Regions from separate parts of the Homo sapiens genome. Here region 2 is linked to region 1. Evidence: promoter capture Hi-C in human tissues and cell types (Jung and others, 2019). All regions are on one chromosome and are shown on one strand. The core of a region is centred on a gene start or on the middle of the fragment in contact, and the rest is flanking DNA. Distances in the headings are between cores, read along the strand shown. Region 1 holds the start of CCT8L2 (chaperonin containing TCP1 subunit 8 like 2). Region 2 has its middle 83 kb from the start of GAB4.

The links. Contacts are between HindIII fragments. The study calls those that stand out against the background at their distance.
Region 2: a contact is called between a fragment that was not itself captured here and the fragment with the promoter of CCT8L2 in region 1, in 2 of the 25 tissues and cell types used here (dorsolateral prefrontal cortex and mesendoderm cells).

What each region holds. Positions count from the first base shown.
Region 1 is chr22:16,590,690-16,594,901 of GRCh38, forward strand. It overlaps CCT8L2 (chaperonin containing TCP1 subunit 8 like 2), which reads right to left and starts at 2,121. Exons shown (of 1, transcript NM_014406.5): 1 at 62-2,121. The coding sequence starts at 1,861. The coding sequence ends at 188. It also overlaps the pseudogene FABP5P11. The HindIII fragment of the contact is 16,456 bases long and covers 1-4,212 here.
Region 2 is chr22:16,922,634-16,926,845 of GRCh38, forward strand. It overlaps the pseudogene IGKV3OR22-2. Among named protein-coding and RNA genes, the nearest start is that of GAB4, 83 kb to the right of the region's middle. The HindIII fragment of the contact is 3,294 bases long and covers 729-4,022 here.

The sequences.
Region 1 (4,212 bases), core at 871-3,370:
CTCAAAAAAAAAAAACAAAAAAAGTCGAGAACTGGAAAGGAACTAAGCGCATGAAAAGAAATTTTATGTTCCTTCATGTTTTTATTTAAAGAAAGTGAATCAAGTACCAAACACGGAATAAAGGCAAACATTCATTTTTGGGGTGATTGTTCCCTTCTTGGCAATCCCTGTTTTATTGAGGGTATCACTAGTTATTCAATCCAAGGATTTTTTTTGTTTCCACAGGAGGTGGGTGTTTCTTTGTCTTCTTAGAGTCAGGATTCCAGATCTCCTGATGTGTGGGACTTTTCTTGGCCACTACGATTTCATCTACAGTCACGAGCTGTAGCACCACCTCAGCCACTGCTCGAAATCCTTGGGCTTTGACTATTAGGGTGTCCCACACCCCTTCCTGGGCCACATTTATTATCCCTTCAGTTCCCACACCCATTAGGAGGTTCCCACCTTGGTGCACTCCACTCATTTCTGCCATCACGTCTGAGACAGCTAAGCCTGCATTCTCTGCCAAAGTTTTAGGAAGATACTTCAGGGCCCAGGCAAATGCTAGGAATGCAGGCCCACTGGGCCCTTCCAATCTGCTTCCTTTATCAGAAAGCATTTTTGCCAAAGCCATTTCTGTGGCCCCAGCTCCTGGAATCAGTCTGGGATCTTGACATAGCTGGAAATAGGCATCAATGCCGTGGTAGACGGCCTGCTCTGCACTCCGCAGCCCCTGGGTGGTGGCTCCCCTGAGAACCACAGTGAGGGCAGGTGTGCCTGTACATTCCCATTCAAATACCACAGCCAAACCATCTCCCAGCTCCTGCCTGTAAACCCTCTGGCACTTGCCTGGCCTCTGGGGAGGGAGCAGACGAGGCAGCAGAGGTGTGTCCAACACCTCACTCAGGTAAATGATCTCCATCCAAGACCTAGCTTGAATCACCACGATGCCATACTTGTCCGCCAGTGTGAGGGTCTCCTCGTCGACCTCCCCCAACACCACTGCCACATTAATTCCTGCAGCTGCTAGCTGGCCTACTTGCTTTTCTAGTAATTGATCGCTTCCTTTACTAAATTGAGCTAGATCAGCAGGACTAGAAAGACGGGCCGTTGCTGGTGCATTTGGATGGGCAGGACCAAAGGGGCAAGCAAAGAGAGCCACCCTGGCACCACTTAACACTGTGGCCATTTGCCCACAGAGCTTCCCAGATATTGCTAACCCCGGGAGGAGGCAGGAATCCTCCAGTGTCCCCCCGGGCAGCGCGCACACCCCAACACGCTCAGGCTTGAAGCTGCCGTCTAGTTCCTTGATAGCCCAGCAGGCGTGGGCCACCAGCTTGGTCAAGTGGTCCATGGGGGACAGGGTGTGGGTATTCATCACAGAATGGAGGGCCCAGGATGGATCTTCCAAAGGCCCCAGAGATTGGATGGCCAGGGAGGGCAGTGTGGCCAGGACCTCTGCAGTGGCCGTGGCGTAGGCCTCCCGGAGCTGCGGGCGAGGCAGGCCAGCCTTCAGCAGCTGCTCTGCCTGTTCCAGCAAGGCTTCCGTCAGCAGAACCACGAAGGCTGTGCCGTCCCCACTATTCTCTGCCTGGGTTTGTCCTGCTTCCCGGAGGAGCCATGCTGCTGGGTGCTCCAGCTCCAGGGCCCTGAGGATGGCAGTGGCACACCCCGTGCACACTGTTTCTCCTTTCATGGTCACCAGGAACTTCTGCCGGCCGTGGGGGCCATAGCAAGGCCGGATGACACTGGCCAGGGTCTGGACTGCAGCCAAGCTGCTCAGCAGGTGGGGCTCCTCCTCTTCTGGACTCCTCGGGCTCTCCCTTGGGTTCAGTGCCAGCCGCTGGGGCAGCTCCAGGGCTGAAGGGACTGTGCTGTCCATGGCCCGCAGAGAGAGGAGAGGCCACCGTGGGTTGCAGAGATGCTCTAGAAACAGCAGCTGGGGCACTCCTGACACCGATCGTTGAAAGTACTCAAGAGGTCAGTGGAAGCAAGGAGCCAAATGCCCATTGATTGGTATCTGAAGACATCAGCACGGACCAGCACTCCACTGTGGGTCCAAGGATGAGCTCCAAAGAGCCCAGTCCTAAAGCCACCCCAGGGTTGATTCTGTAAAGGAACTGGGTCTTGGGGCCTCTCAACCTTGGTGGCTGAAATGGGATCTTTAACTGATGAAGTCACAAAGTGGAAAATGGAACCAGGATAGAGAATGAGGTCACAGAAGGCTGGTTAGAACTGAGGAGGCCCTACCAGCAGGCAAAAGTCAGGCCTTGTCCAGCAATGGAGGTACATGCACCTCTGCACCAGGTTTGAGACTTGTTTAAACGTAAGAGACAATGAGGAGGAGATCAAGTGAAAAACTACCCATTTCACCCTATCTGGAGTGCAGGGGCATAACCATGGTTCACTGCAGGCCCAGCTCCCTGGTCTCAAGCAGTCCTCCTGCTCAGGTTCCCAAGTACCTGGGACTACAGGCACACACCACCACACCTAGCTAGTTTTTTTATTTTTTGTAGAGACAGTGTTTCTGTCTGTTGTCCAGGCAGGTCTCGAATTCCTAGCCTCAAGAGAGCCTTCCACCTTGGCCTCCCAAAGTGCTAGGACTACAGGTGTGAGCCACCACCTCACCCACCCTTTTTTTTTTTTTTTTTTTGAGACAGAGTCACACTCTGTTGCCCAGGCTGGAGTGCAGTGGTACAATCTTAGCTCACTGCAACCTCCACCTCCCAGGTTCAAGCAGTTCTCCTGCCTCAGCCTCTCAGTAGCTGGGATTACAGGTGCCAGCCACCACGCCCGGCTAATTTTTTATATTTTTAGTAGAGATAGGGGGATTTCACCATGTTGGCCATGGTTGGCCAGGTTAGTCTCAAACTCCTGGCCTCAAGTGATCCGCCCACCTCGGCCTCCAAAAGTGCTGGGATTACAGGTGTGAGCCACTGCACCTGGCCTTTTTTTTTTATTTGAGAAGGAACTGAGAGATGATGTCTGTGTTTTGTTTTGTTTTGGTGTTACTTTCTCTTGCAGTACTGTGTAATATTAGCCATGTTTTGCTGTCTGCCTTTGACTTTTTGGGTATCTTATCAGTTTGTGCTTGTGTATCAGGTTTCTTAGGGTGTCTGTTGGTCTTTCAGGGTGCAGGTGTGGGAGGCTGCACAGCGTGCATGCCTGTGCCACGACTCCCAACTCTGCCTCCCTGGCAGAGGCAGGGCAAGACAAGTGGGGAAGGATGCTGACAGCTCACAGACAAATAGAAGTGAACCCAGAGGGGTGAAAAGCAACCAGCCTCCCAGCGGTCAGGGAGGTAGAAGCCTAAATGGGGTCCTGAGATTTAAATGCGAATCGCCTTCCCATCCTAACCTTCAATGCTTACAATTTAAGTCTCTTTTTTTCATTCTCTCTCCTTTCCTCACTTGTCTCCTCTTTCCTCCTATAGAGCCTACTCGGGTAATGATGCTTCTGCTTTAGTTTAACACATATTTAGTCTGGGCGTGGTGGCTCATGCATGTAATCCCTGCACGTTGGGAGGCTGAGGCGGGAGGATTGCTTAAGCTCAGGAGGTTGAGGCTTCAGTGAGCCATGATTGCACCACTGCATTCCAGCTAGGGCAACAGAGTGAGACTTGTCTCAAAAAAAATAGGGGAAAGGTCATTTGGAATCCTAGTCCAGAGATAACCATTGTTTACAACTTGATGAACATTACTACTTTGCACATATTATATGCATACATAATTATAGATTTACACCATTTTACATAAGATTATGATACATATATGCTATTCTGTGATCATTTCCCCCTCAACATTATCTTGGCTCAGAGAAATGTTTCTTTTTTTGTTTGGACATGGAGTTTCGGAGTTTCGCTCTTGTCGCCCAGGCTGGAGTACAATGGCGCAATCTCGGCTCACCCTCGGCTCACCACAGCCTCTGCCTCCCGGGTTCAAGCAATTCTCTTGCCTCAGCCTCCTGAGTAGCTGGGACTGAGTAGCCATGTGCCACCATGCCCGGCTAATTTTGTGTTTTTAGTAGAGACAGGGTTTCTCCATGTTAGTCAGGCTGGTCTCAAACTCCTGACCTCAGGGGATCCACCCGCCTCGGCCTCCCAAAAGTGCTGGGATTACAGGCGTGTGCCACTGTGCCTGGTCTGTGAGCCACTGTGCCCGGCCTGAGAAATGTTTCTTTTTTTCTTTCTTTTTTTTTTTTTAAGCAGAAACACATTCATTTATTAACCAAAGG
Region 2 (4,212 bases), core at 1,126-3,625, 330 kb after region 1:
AACTAAGTTTTCTGTATGTTCTCCATCCCAATGAATCTCTAGAATATTTCAAATTCTCCAGATTCATCCCTCATGCACCTTCCCAGGCAACAGCTGCTCCCCAATTTCAGTCAAGGTAACTGGAATTCAGATACTCATCACAATAGCTTGGTTTCCCCTGGCCTAGAATTTCATATAAATTGAAGGAAACACTTTTTTGTTTTTTCCTTGCTTCTTCCTCTTTTCTTTACTGTTTCTGAAATCTTCATTTATTTCTGTGCATTCAGATTACCATCTGCTGTCATTTCCTGTGATTCTGAAAAGTTTCCTCTTGAATATCTTATAGAATATATCTGCAAGTAATCATTTCTCTTCATTTTGTTCATAAAGAAGTGTTTTTACTTTACCTTTATTTTTGAAGCATATCTTCACTCGATATTGAATCCTTGGGTGAGTCCCTTCCACCCAGTATGTAAATATGTAATCTCACTGTCTTCTGCCTCTATTGGTCCCATGAACAGTTCACCAAGTGTTTTATTACTGTTTCTCTGGTATAAGAAACCAGTATTTTCTTGATACATTTGAGATTTTCACTTTGTATGTGATTCTGCATTTTAACTACAATCTGTATAATGATGCATGTCTTGATGTTTATCCTGGATAAGTTTCCATTTTTTTGATCTCATAGACTAATGTGTTTCATTACCCTTGACACATTTCGCAGAATTTCTCAGGTCTCTCAGGTGTGCCACCTCCCAGAGATGCTCTCTGTGTGGTTATTCTCTGCAATTCACTCTACTGTGTTGCTGTACATTCTCTTTTTATGTTATGTCCTAGGTAATTTCCGGAGCAGCCTCAGGCCAGTCTCTGGAGTGTGGGTGCACTTGTAGTGACAGCAGCTCTGGGCTTGGGCCTGGGCTGGTCCACATGGAAGTGGCTCAGGGTCTGAGTTGCCAACACAGGATGAGGTCCCGGAGCCTGGGTTGGGATGATGCAGAGTTGGGGCTGGGAGGCAGCCCCATCCCAGGCCGCACAACAGTGGCTGCTTCTTGGGAGGATGTGGAGGGAAGGTCGCAGAATCTTCCTCTCTGCGGTGATGTACATGCCCATGGCTGCAGATTTTTTTAGTGCCAAAATCACCAGTGTCCTCTTTGGAGCAGGCTGTTGTGATCCTTATTAATGAACACTAAGGGGCCTTCATTAGGAAAGCTGTAGAGTGGAGCTGCCTTGGGGGATACTGAGGTCCTCAGCTGCCAAGGCTGCAGGGTCCTCCACAGAGCAGGCCATGGGGACTGCAGTGGCCCTGCCTCCTAGCTGGTAACACTTGCCTCCTGCTTCTTTGCCCCTGGCTGTCTCAAAACTCTCAGATGTGCCATCTCCCAGCCATCCTTCCTGCATGGTTACTCTGCGCTTTTCTCCCGTTGTGTTCCTGCACTTCTTTAATTGGATTCTGGAGCACTCCAAGGGCTGTTTTCTTTCTTGGATAGCTGTCTAATTGTTGGTTTTGCTATTTTGTGTGTGTTTATGTGTTTTTTTGGGGGGGAGTCCAGATGAAGGCTGGAATCAATGTGAAGCCACTTTTCTTAGGCATTATTAATCTTATTAATCTTATCATGAGTGCAGAGCCCTCATGAGCTAATCACCAAAGAATCCAATGTCTAATACTGTTGTCTTGAAAATTCAGTTTCAACAGGAACTTTGGAGGGGACACAATCAGACCATAGCAGTGATTTAGTAGAAAAAAATATGATAACTGAATTATATTGGATCAATTGGATATCCATATGATGTCAAAATGAATCTTATCCTGCACATTTTACCTCTATATTGATACGCACATTAATTGTAAATCATAACCTGAAATGTAAAGTCAAAAGTATAAAGCTTTTAAACAATACCATAAAAAGATATTTCATGACTATACATGTGAAAAAAGATTTTGTATAGAAGATACACAAAGCACTAAGCACAAAAAAATTAATCAATTAGTTCTCCACTGAAAACTCAAAAAGCCAGAATGGTTTCTTTCTGCCAAATGACTACATCACCTCTCCATCAAGGGTTCACATCCAGGCTGAACCTGAGATGGCTGAAATGACAGAAGTAGAATTTATAATAGGAATAGGAATAAAATTCATTGAGTTGCAGGAGTATGTTGTAACCCAATTCAAGAAAGCTAAAAATAATGAAAAAAATTTTCAGCAGATGACAGACAAAATAGCCAGTACAGAGAAGCACATAACCAGCATGTTAGATCTGAAAAACACACTACAGGAATTTCATAGTGCAATCACAAGTATTAATAGCACAACATACCATGTGGGGAAAAGAATCTCAGAGCTTGAACACTGACTAAGATAAGGTGGGCAGGCAGGAATATAGAAAAAATAATGAAAAGGAATAAACAAAACCTCCAAGAGATATTGGATTATGTAAAGAGACCCATTCTACAGCTGATTGGTATACCTGAAAGGGATGGGGCAAATGAAACAAACCTGGAGAATATATTTCAGGATATCATCTATGAAAAATTCCCCCACCTATCTAAAGAGGCCAACATTCAAATTCAGGAAATTTGGAGAACACAAAAGTAAGATAATCTACAAGAAGATCATTTCCAAGACACATAATTGTCAGATTCTCCAAGGTGAGAAGGAAAGCAAAAATTTTAAAGGCAGCTGGAGAGAAAGGCCAGCTCACCTACAAACAAAAGCCCATCAGACTAACGTGGATCTCTAAGCAGAAATCCTACAAACTGGAAGAAATTGTGGGTCAATATTCAACATCCTAAAGGAAAAGAAACTCCAACCCAGGATGTTATGTCCAGCCAAACTAAGCTTCATAAGTGAAGAGAAATAAGATCCTTTTAAGACAAGCAAATGCTGAGGGAATACGTCACCACCAAACCTGCCTTACAAGAGCTCCTGAAGGAAGCACTAAGTATGGAAAGGAAAGACCATTACCAGCCACTACAAAAACACACTGAAGTACTCAAACAAGTGATGCAATAAAGCAATCACATAAACAAGTCTGTGAAATAACCAGCTGACATCATGATGACACGATCAAACCCACACATATTCATGCTCACCTTAGAAGTAAATGGGCTAAGTGCTTCAATTAAAAGACACGGAATGGAAAGTTGGAAAAAGAACTAAGACTCATTGGTATGCTGTTTTCAAGAGCCCCATCTCACATGCAATGATACACATATGCTCAAAATAAAGGGATGGAGAAAAACCTACCAAGGAAATGGAAAACAGAAAAAAGAAGGGGTTACCGTTTCTGACAAAACAGACTTTAAACAAACAAAGATTAAAAAAAAAGACAAAGAAGTGAAAAATCTTAGGCTTCAGGCAGCTGATGGTGATAGTAAAGTCTGTCTCCAATCCATGACCACTAAACCCCAGGATGCTAGTGGCCCTGTTGGATGTGCCTTAGATGAGGAACCAGGGAGCTTTTCCAGGTTTCTGCTGATACCAGGCTAAGGAGCTGCCAATGCTCTGACTGCACACACAGATGAGAGAGTCTCTTTTCCCTGAAGACAAAGACAAGGAGTCAAGAGACTGCATCAACATAACTTCTCTGGAGGGACATGAGATTAGAATAAAACAGGAAAATCACTCATATAAACTGCATCAAGCCCACAATCTTCATAGTATAACCACAGTCACTAATCTACACTGAATTATAATTACTGTTCTTGCTCAGCAGGGATGCCAGGTCAGAGGAACCAACAAGGTTGAGAGAGTTTCAGTGTAGAGCCATCTCCTCTTCCCCTCACCTGGGAGCTAGAGTACAGGAGGCAGAGAAGCTGAGATGGGGCTTCCATGAGTCTCTCTTGTCCTAACTGAGCAGTGCTTGCCCTGAGTTCTGACCCAGGTATTGATATGGGCTCTGAACAGCAGCATGGCTGGGAGGAACATGCAAAGAAGCATTGGACTTGCTGTGCTTCTAGCTGCAGAGACCACCTGCCTCCTCTTTTTTTCATTGAGAAGCCCCTGCCCAAGTGGTCAGGTCAGAAAGGCTATTGGCTCAGCATGAGGGTAGACCTTCTCCCTTCCGGACTCCCAATTTAATCCCCGTCCTACCTCACCAGTTACCTAGGCTCAGACAGATGGTGTTTAGTACAAACCTCTTGAAAGAAAAAATAAAAATCTATGGTTTCTTTTTCTCTTTCTTCCCCTAACATGCCCAGTCATCTTCCTGGCTGCATGATTGTACCTGGCTGAA